Linked DNA regions of Homo sapiens: region 2 is linked to region 1. Evidence: promoter capture Hi-C in human tissues and cell types (Jung and others, 2019). All regions are on one chromosome and are shown on one strand. Each heading gives the region's core, a stretch centred on a gene start or on the middle of the fragment in contact. The rest is flanking DNA. Distances are from core to core; before and after follow the strand shown. Region 1 holds the start of SYNE4 (spectrin repeat containing nuclear envelope family member 4). Region 2 has its middle 22 kb from the start of SDHAF1.

Region 1 (4,449 bases), core at 1,147-3,646:
ACCTGTGGTCTGGAGAAGTGAGGAAACCTCTGAAGGACCCAGTGGCTATCTCCAAACGGTCAGGGGTCCCTGAGAGGATCAGGGTGCTTCCAGCCACTGTGGAATCCCTAATGGGGGATCTATTGCTATAGGGGGGCCCTCAGGACCCCATTGCCTTCCCCAGGTGGGCTTCCTCATCCCCGAGGGATGGTTCCTGAGCGGCTGCCCCCATGGCTCCAGCGCTACGTGGACAAAGTGTCAAACCTCAGCCTCTTTGGAGGCCTCCCAGCTAACCATGTCCTCGTGAACCAGTATCTGCCTGGGGAGGGCATCATGGTAACCACACACCCTCGGCCCGTGTCCCCCCACTCAGACTTCTGAGCTGTGCTGGGGCAGGGGACTCTGTACCCACCCTCACTCATTAGGCAGCCACATCTCCCAAACAGGCATTCACCTCCCTGTCCCTGGCTTGGGAAGCCCCCCTTTGACCCAGAGGGTGGGGGTTGTGGACTCCTGCCCTGCCCAGCCCTGGTGCCCACTCCCTAGCCCCACGAGGACGGACCACTGTACTACCCGACTGTCAGCACCATCAGCCTGGGCTCCCACACCGTGCTGGACTTCTACGAGCCGCGGCGGCCAGAGGACGATGACCCTACAGAACAGGTGGGCCCCCAGACACTGCCCCAGCTGCTTGTAGGCACTTCAACCTCGCACATCCTCCAAGATGACCTGGTCCCACATGCCTTCGGGGTACTCCTGGCACTCTCCCAGATACCTTCCCTTGTCCCCTCATGGGGTGTACCCACTTCCTCCCAGACACCCAACCCATCTGCTTACAGGGTGTCTGTCCCACATGCCATGATTTTCACAGGCTCCCCGATGCCCCAACCTGCTGAATGGATACCCCTGACTCCCCAGCAGACACTGATATCCTTAGATACCCCACCGCCATTAACTCGGGGGGCCTCACCTCCTCCCAGATGCTCTATCTGCCCCTGCTCAGGGTGCCCCAGACGTCCTGCTACTCCAGGAATGTGATTTGGGGTGCAGGACACCCCCAGATTCTCCTTGACCCCTTGACACAATTTCTCTGAGTGATGCATTTCTAGCACCCCAGTGTTCACAGAAACGCCCCTGAACACGCCGACCCACTCCTTGAGGCTTGCCCTCGAGCCCTGCATGCTCCTGGATGCTCTGACACTCCCTCAGCTGTGCGGTTGTCCTCTAATGTCCTGATGTCCTTGGGAACCCCCACTGCCTCTAACCTCTGCCTCACTCTCTCCTCACCTGGTCCTGGCTTCAGCCATGCTCTCTCAGCCCAGCTCTGCCTGTATTTCCTGGGGACTGCCTATTCCTGGGTCCCAGCCCCAGCCTCAGCCCCTTTGAGATCCCAGCTGCAGCTCCCACCGGCCGCTGACCCTTTGACGCCCCCATCTGCCACCTAGATCCTGCCCCCTCCCGAGGGACGGCAGAGCCCTCGCCCTCCCTTTCCAGCAGCCCCAGCCCAGGCCCCAGCAATTTTCACTCCTGAACCACCAAAGCCTCCATCATTGTGAGCACACTTGCTCTTCAGCTTTTGCCCCTGGGGACTAGCTGATCCCCGGAGGCTACCGACCTCTCGCCCACCCCCACCCCCCGACTTCTTGAGCCCTGCTGACCCTCAACCCGCCCTGCAGCCTCGGCCTCCGCCCCGGCCCACCACCTCGCTACTGCTGGAACCGCGCAGCCTGCTGGTGCTCCGCGGCCCCGCCTACACGCGTCTTCTCCACGGCATCGCCGCCGCCCGCGTAGACGCGCTGGACGCCGCCTCCTCGCCGCCCAATGCGGCAGCCTGCCCGTCGGCGCGGCCGGGAGCCTGCCTGGTGCGCGGCACCCGGGTCTCGCTGACCATCCGCCGCGTGCCCCGCGTGCTGCGCGCCGGCCTCCTGCTGGGCAAGTGACCGCCAGGGCCGGGACCCCTCGGATTCCCAGGTTCCTGCCCCTTTGGGGCTGCTGTGACTCCGCGACCTAGGAACCGTGGGCAAAGGGGGCTCCCCTGGGTTATTTATTTTCCCAATAATTTTGTGTGAGCTACAGAAGACCCCATACCAAATAAACAAAAAAATCTTTCCTTGGTTTTATATTTTTATTTTTTAGGGGCCAGATGCTTGGTTTCCTGAGGGGAGCGGCATCTAGGGTCTTAAATGAATGGGGTAGGCCCTGGAGGTCCGATTTCTGGGTTCCCAGTGGGGCAGAATCCAGGGCTCTTGAGGAGGTGGCGCAGGGGTTCTATCTGGAACCCTCTTGGATGGCGTGGAGTGATGCTGGGAGATTTAGCTACTGGCCTGCTAGGGAGGAAGGAGTTAAGTGACTCTTCTGTCACCTGAGCTGGGCATCAAATGGCCGGGTCCAGGTTCCTCTTGGAAGGGGCGGAGCCAGACCTGTCCTGGGCCTCTCCTGCAGCCTCAGGCCCGGGTGACTCCAGCGGAGGAGCTCTGGGACACCCTTGTCTAGGGAAGAGGTCTTACTGGCTGCCCTCACCTGACTTTGTGTCCCCAGGCCCCCAGCCATGGCCCTGTCCCTGCCTCTGGGCCCTAGACTTGGCTCAGAGCCCCTCAACCACCCACCGGGAGCACCTAGAGAGGCGGACATTGTTGGATGCACCGTCTGCCCCGCGTCCGGAGAGGAGAGCACGAGGTGGGGGCCGGGGCTTTGGAAGCTTGTTCCCAAAAGGGTAGGCGTGGTGGCAGGGGCCATGTGAGGGTAGGAGGTGCCATGGCTGTGATCGCCTGGGGACATAGGAGAGGCCACCAGGGTTGGGGTGACGGTAGGCTGAAAAGTGAGGTGTCGAGACTCACCCAGTCACCGCCCCCTGCCTCCTAGCCCAGAGCAGGCCCAGACCCTGGGACAGGACTCCTTGGGCCCTCCTGAGCACTTCCAGGGTGGGCCAAGGGGCAATGAGCCTGCCGCTCACCCCCCGAGATGGTCAACACCCTCTTCCTACGAGGACCCAGCTGGGGGCAAACACTGTGAGGTGAGCTGAGGTGACCCAGACCCCTTGTGCCAGCCCCACCTCCTCTCTGTCCCCTGGAGTCTGGCCTCCATACTGAGGACCGGGTGATGATTCTGGAAAGGTGTTGGGTGTCTGTAGGGGGAGGGACCTTCTGGAAAAGTGTTTCAATATCTGACCAACTGGGGAGACGTATTTCTTTCTTTCTTTTTTTTTTTGAGATGGAGTCTCTCTGTCACCTAGGCTGGAATGCAGTGGTGAGATCTCTGCTCACTGCAACCTCCGCCTCCCAGGTCCCAGTGATTCTCCTGCCTCAGCCACCCGAGTAGCTGGGATTACAGGCACATGCCACCATACCTGGCTAATTTTTTGTATTTTTAGTAGAGATGGGTTTTCGACTTGTTGGCCAGGCTAGTCTCGAACTCCCGACCTCAGGTGATCCACCCACCTCAGCCTCCCGAAGTGCTGGGATTACAGGCGTGCGTCACCGTGTCCAGCCATATTTCTTTTTTATTAAAAAAAAAAAAGTAGAGATGATGTCTCACCATGTTGCCCAGGCTGGTCTTGAACTCCTGGGCTCAAGTGATCCTCGGGCCTCGGCCTCCCAAAGTGCTGGGATTACAGATGTGAACCACTGCGCCCGGCTGAGAAGCATTTCATCATTGCTCCTGGTGTAGCCCCATTCTTCTTGGGGGGTACCCAGCCCCGCTCCCTGTCCAGACCCCCCAGGCCTCACACATCCAAGTTTCCAGGAGCTTTGAAAACCTGGAGACCTTGAACTAGATATCTGTCCTCAGGCCTGGCTCCACTGGGAAGGCCCCCCCAGTGGGAGCCATCCTGGTGCAGACAGACCCGGAGATGGACTGTGCCACAGAGAAGTTTCCAGAAGCTTACAGAAGAGGGGTGGGGATGGGAGCAGGGGTGATATCTTGATTGGCCCACTGGCCCTGACCTGGCTCCTGTGTTCCCCAGCACCCCATTTCTGGCCTGGAGGTACTAGAGGCTGAGCAGAACAGCCTGCACCTGTGCCTGCTGGGGCTGGGCCGCCGGCTGCAGGACCTGGAGCAAGGCCTGGGGCACTGGGCATTGGCCCAGAGTGGGATGGTGCAGCTGCAGGTAGGCAGGAGAGGCCAGGATGTGGGGGTGGGCACGGCCCCAGCAGTGGGTGCCAGCTTTCCGGGATGGGAAATGGGTTGAGTGCATGTTCCAGGCCTTTGGATAGGAAATGGGGGAGGGGGGTAACTCCAGGTTTTGGGTCCCTGGTGTGTGCGTGGGGTGATGTCCATATGTCCCCAGGCCCTCCAGGTGGACCTACGAGGGGCAGCTGAGCGTGTGGAGGCGCTGCTAGCGTTTGGTGAGGGGCTGGCACAGCGGAGTGAGCCCAGGGCCTGGGCAGCCCTGGAGCAGATCCTGCGGGCCCTGGGAGCTTACCGAGACTCCATCTTCCGGCGGCTCTGGCAGCTGCAGGCCCAGCTGGTCAG
Region 2 (4,449 bases), core at 1,194-3,693, 35 kb after region 1:
TGGTACTGGGCAGGGGGTGGGCCCACAGCAGCTACAAATGCCTGAACTGCTGTCCATGGTTCTGATCGTTGTTGTCCACAGCAGTTGTGTTTGGCATCTAGGATTTGGGGGGCTGTGAGGGTTTGTAAACATTGGGGATTGGGACTTTAGAACTCCTGGATCCTATATGGGGGTGCCCAGGACCTGGACTGAGAGTGTGTTCTGAAATTCAGTTAACATACTTAAAGAAGCACTTCAAATAGTGCCTGGAACACAGTAGATACTCAATATATGGTTGTTGAATGAGGAAATGGAATTATTGGCTCAGAACTGGGTTCCAAGATCCCAGAGTCTGACACTTCTGGTACACTGGGGCTTGCCCTTGAGATTCTAGGATTTTGTTTTTGACAGAGTCTTGCTCTGTCGCCCAGGCTGGAGTGCAGTGGCACAATCTCGGCTCACTCCAATCTCCACCTCCTGAGTTCAAGCGATTCTCCTGTCTCAGCCTCCCTAGATTCTGGGATTATAGGCACCTGCCACCACACCCAACTAATTTTTGTATTTTTAGTAGAGATGGGGTTTCATCATATTGGTCAGGCTGGTCTTGAACTCCTGACCTCAGATTATCCGCCTGCCTCAGCCTCCTAAAGTGCTGGGATTACGGGCATGAGCCACCGCGCCTGGCAGGACCCTGTCTCTTAAAAAAGGAAGAAGCAGCCTGTGTCGCAGGCACAAGTATGCCCGCAGGGCAGTGGTAACCCCCAGTGGGCCTGCCTGTGGGGGGTCTCTGGACAGGATAAGCCACATGGCTCATAGTGATTGTTTTCGGGGCACTCAATAGCTGCAGGGGCAGGAGTGGGGATGGAGAAAGACAGGAAGGGAAAGGTATTCACACCAGGACTCCCAGGTCTGGTTTCCAAGACCCAAGCATTTGGCCACCCCTATAGTGCAAATGTCCCTGCTCTCAGCTTCCAGGAATCCCTACCAACATCCTGTGGTCCTCACCCTCTAGAATGGAGCTCTCCAGGCAACAGACCCAGCAATCCCTGCCTCACAGAGTAAAGAAGTCTCTGTGCTAAGAAACCAGAAGTCCACTCCCCAGAACATAGAAGTCTGGCTCTGGGACAGGCGTAGTGGCTCACATCTGTAATCCCAGCATTTTGGGAGGCCAAGGTGGGAGGATCACTTGAGCTCAGGAATTAGAGACCAGCCTGGGCAACATAGGAAGACCTCATCTTTACAAAAAAAATTAAAAAATTATCTGGGCATAGTGGCACATGCCCGTGGTCCCAGATACTTGGGAAGCTGAGGAGGGAGGATGGCTTGAGCCTGGGAGGTTGAGGCTGCAGTGAGCTATGATAGTACCACTGCACTCCAGCCTTGGCAACAGAGTGATACCCTGTCTAAATAAACAACAGAGTGACATCCTGTCTAAATAAATAAATAAGTCTGGCTCTGGGACTCAGAGCGCTCACCCCAGATACTGGAGTTGTCACCACCTAGGTGTTCTAGTCTCTAGAACTTGAGAACCCAGCAGTCCCAGCCCTATAGCCAAGTTGTTCCCATGCCCAGGACCCAGAAGCCCTGGCCCCAGACCCAAAGAGCCCTGTCTCTGGGCCCTAGAATTATTTTCCCCGCACCCCCCAACTCAGCAGTCTTGCCCCCAGGACCCAGAGGCTGTCCCCTTCCAGGGACCCTACACCCTTGCCCCAGGAATCAGCCTCCAGAACTAAGGAGTGTCATTCCTAAGTCCCAGAATCCCCTTTACCCAGCAGCCTATAACCCTTTCCCTTGAAGGGTCACTCACGGCAGCCAGCCCAGAAGCTCGAGGGCTCAGTGTTGACACTGAGGCCTGACAGGGTGTACACAGACATGGAAGCACTCCCAAAGCGTAGGCAGGGAGCTGGGGAAGGGGCATATCCAGGCACGGCACTGGCCTCGAAGGGTGTAGGTGTCACACTTGGTGGCAGTGGCTAAGGGGCCCCTTTGGGGCTACAGGGACAGCACAGGGCCCCCAGTCTCCTGTGGGGACTAAGGCTTGGCTCAGGGTATCAGGTGGCTGCGGGGCCCAAATGCACGAAGACCAGTGGATCTGGACTGCCCATGTCATGGTCCTGCCTGAATGAAGTCACTGCACAGTCTGCCTTGTGTGAGTGGCAACCTTCAGCCACGTGCAGTGACGTGTGTGCTGCCGGTTGTAAAAGAGATGCAGTGTGGGCGGTTCTTGCTCCAGACCTGCCTCTGCCCATGGTTCTGAGGTGTGGAAGTACAACCATAGCCATCTGTCGCCCAGGATAACTGACAGCCCCAGCTGCTGTGGGTTCCCCTGCAGGAGTGACCAAGAGCTGGGGTCTTCAGAGGGGCTGAATTCCTGAGCATCGGGGAGGGGTGGAGGATAAGGAGGTTGAGGGGGTTGGATTCTGGGATATTGAGAGTGGGGCCTTTGCAGATCTAGGATGCCCCACCCTCGTCTACTAACCAAGAATCTTTCTTTTTCTTCTTCTTCTTCTTTTTTTTTTTTTCGAGACAGAGTCTCACCCTGCCGCCCAGGTTGGAGTGCAGTGGCACAGTCTCGGCTCACTGCAAGCTCCGTCTCCTGGGTTCACGCCATTCTCCTGTCTCAGCCTCCCCAGTAGCTGGGACTACAGGCGCCTGCCACCACGCCCCGTAATTTTTTGTATTTTTAGTAGAGACAGGGTTTCACTGTGCTAGCCAGGATGGTCTCGATCTCCTGACCTTGTGATCCGCCCACCTTGGCCTCCCAAAGTGCTGTGATTACAGGTGTGAGCCACCGTGCCCAGCTAACCAAGAATCTTTCTGTGTGTGTGTGTGTGTGTGTGTGTGTGTGTGTGTGTGTGTGTGTGTGTGTGTGTTTAAGTAGAGACGAGGTTTCGTCATGTTGCCCAGGCTGGTCTGGAACTCCTGAGCTCAAGCAGTCTGCCCACCTTGGCCTCCTAAAGTGCTGGGATTGTAGATGTGAGCCACCATGCCCAGCCTCTATCCGGGAATCTTTTTTTTTTTTTTTTTTTTTTTTGAGACAGAGTCTCGCTCTGTCTCCCAGGCTGGAATGCAGTGGCGAGATCTTGGCTCACTGCAACCTCCACCTCCCAGGTTCAAGCAATTCTGCTCTCTCAGCCTCCTGAGTAGCTGGGATTACAGGCGTGCACTACCATGCCAAGCTAATTTTTGTAGTTTTAGTAGAGACAGGGTTTCACCATGTTGGTCAGGCTGGTTTTGAACTCCTGACCTCGTGATCCGCCCGCCTTGGCCTCCCAAAGTGTTGGGATTACAGGCGTGAGCCACTGTGCCCGGCCTTCTTTTTTTTTTTTTTTAAACTGGGAGTCTTGATTTCAATATCCAGATTTGTCCTAACACAATACTTGCAAGTCCTCTTCTCAGGAATCTAGATGAGTAATCCTACCAAGGAGCCAGGTGTGCCCACCTCATCCAGTAAACAGGAGAGCCTTCAGACAGGACCCAAGGGCTTCCCCCATTACCAAGAGCCTCCACCTGTCCTTCCAGATCAAGGGGTACCTCCTTTCTCCCAGTCCATGATTTCCTTATTTTGCCTCACTTGGTGGTTTCCAGCCCACATTTCTCCTGCGTTCACTGCCCCACCCTGGTCCAAGCCCCATTGTCTCCTGCCGGGACTACTGCAGCAGCCTCCTCACTGTTGTTCCTCCAGGCCTCATTCCTTCACAAGCCCTGTAATCTGTTCTCAACTGGCAGCCACAGGGATGTTGTTAGTGTCTGATATAGTTTGGCTATTTGTCCCTGCCCAAATCTTGGCAGGGCGCAGTGGCTCACGCCTGTAATCCCAGCACTTTGGGAGGCTGAGGCAGGTGGATCACCTGAGGTCAAGAGTTCCAGACCAGCCTGGCCAACATAGTGAAACCCCGTGTCTACTAAAAACACAAAAATTATCCGAGTGTGGTGGCATGTGCCTGTAGTCCCAGGCTACTTGGGAGGCTGAGGCAGGACAATTGCTTGAACCTGGGAGGCAGAGGTTGCAGTGAGCCAAGATCTCACCACTGCACTCCAGCCTGGGCAACAGAGTGAGACTCAGTCTCAAAAAAAAAAAAAAAATTCTAAAATTCCAATTAATTGAGGAAGGAACACAGGAGTGTCAAGTCCTTGGGAAAAGAGGGATCATGTTGGTGAGAGTATAAGTCTGGAGCCCTGAGTATCTGAAGGTTCTGGATACCTGGGGTGGGGGCTACTGGATGCTGGGGAGCCTTAAGAGCACTGGGGGGCATCCTGACCCCTGAGTGGCAGGGCAAACTCCCAGGCGGTGTGGAGGCAGGTATGCAGCATCATGGCTTCACGTCTCGGGTCCTAGCTTTGCATATTTTCTGTGCTTTCCATATATTAGCTCATTTAATCCTCACTACAGCCCTATGAATCAGATCTTTTCATCATTCTCATTTCACATATGAAGAAATTGAGGCCCAGAGAGGTTAAATAATTTAT

What was found. Contacts are between HindIII fragments. The study calls those that stand out against the background at their distance.
Region 2: a contact is called between a fragment that was not itself captured here and the fragment with the promoter of SYNE4 in region 1, in 5 of the 25 tissues and cell types used here (dorsolateral prefrontal cortex, mesenchymal stem cells, mesendoderm cells and 2 more).

The regions. Positions count from the first base shown.
Region 1 is chr19:36,006,760-36,011,208 of GRCh38, reverse strand. SYNE4 (spectrin repeat containing nuclear envelope family member 4) reads left to right here and starts at 2,396. Exons shown (of 8, transcript NM_001039876.3): 1 at 2,396-2,655; 2 at 2,842-2,992; 3 at 3,941-4,084; 4 at 4,265-4,449. The coding sequence starts at 2,528. It overlaps ALKBH6 (alkB homolog 6), which reads left to right. Exons shown (of 7, transcript NM_032878.5): 5 at 164-315; 6 at 526-642; 7 at 1,656-2,089. The coding sequence ends at 1,919. RefSeq lists enhancers at 2,143-2,682, 2,683-3,224. The HindIII fragment of the contact is 19,934 bases long and covers 1-3,267 here.
Region 2 is chr19:35,971,426-35,975,874 of GRCh38, reverse strand. No RefSeq gene overlaps it. Among named protein-coding and RNA genes, the nearest start is that of SDHAF1, 22 kb to the left of the region's middle. RefSeq lists silencers at 1-121, 2,121-2,321. The HindIII fragment of the contact is 9,546 bases long and covers 1-4,449 here.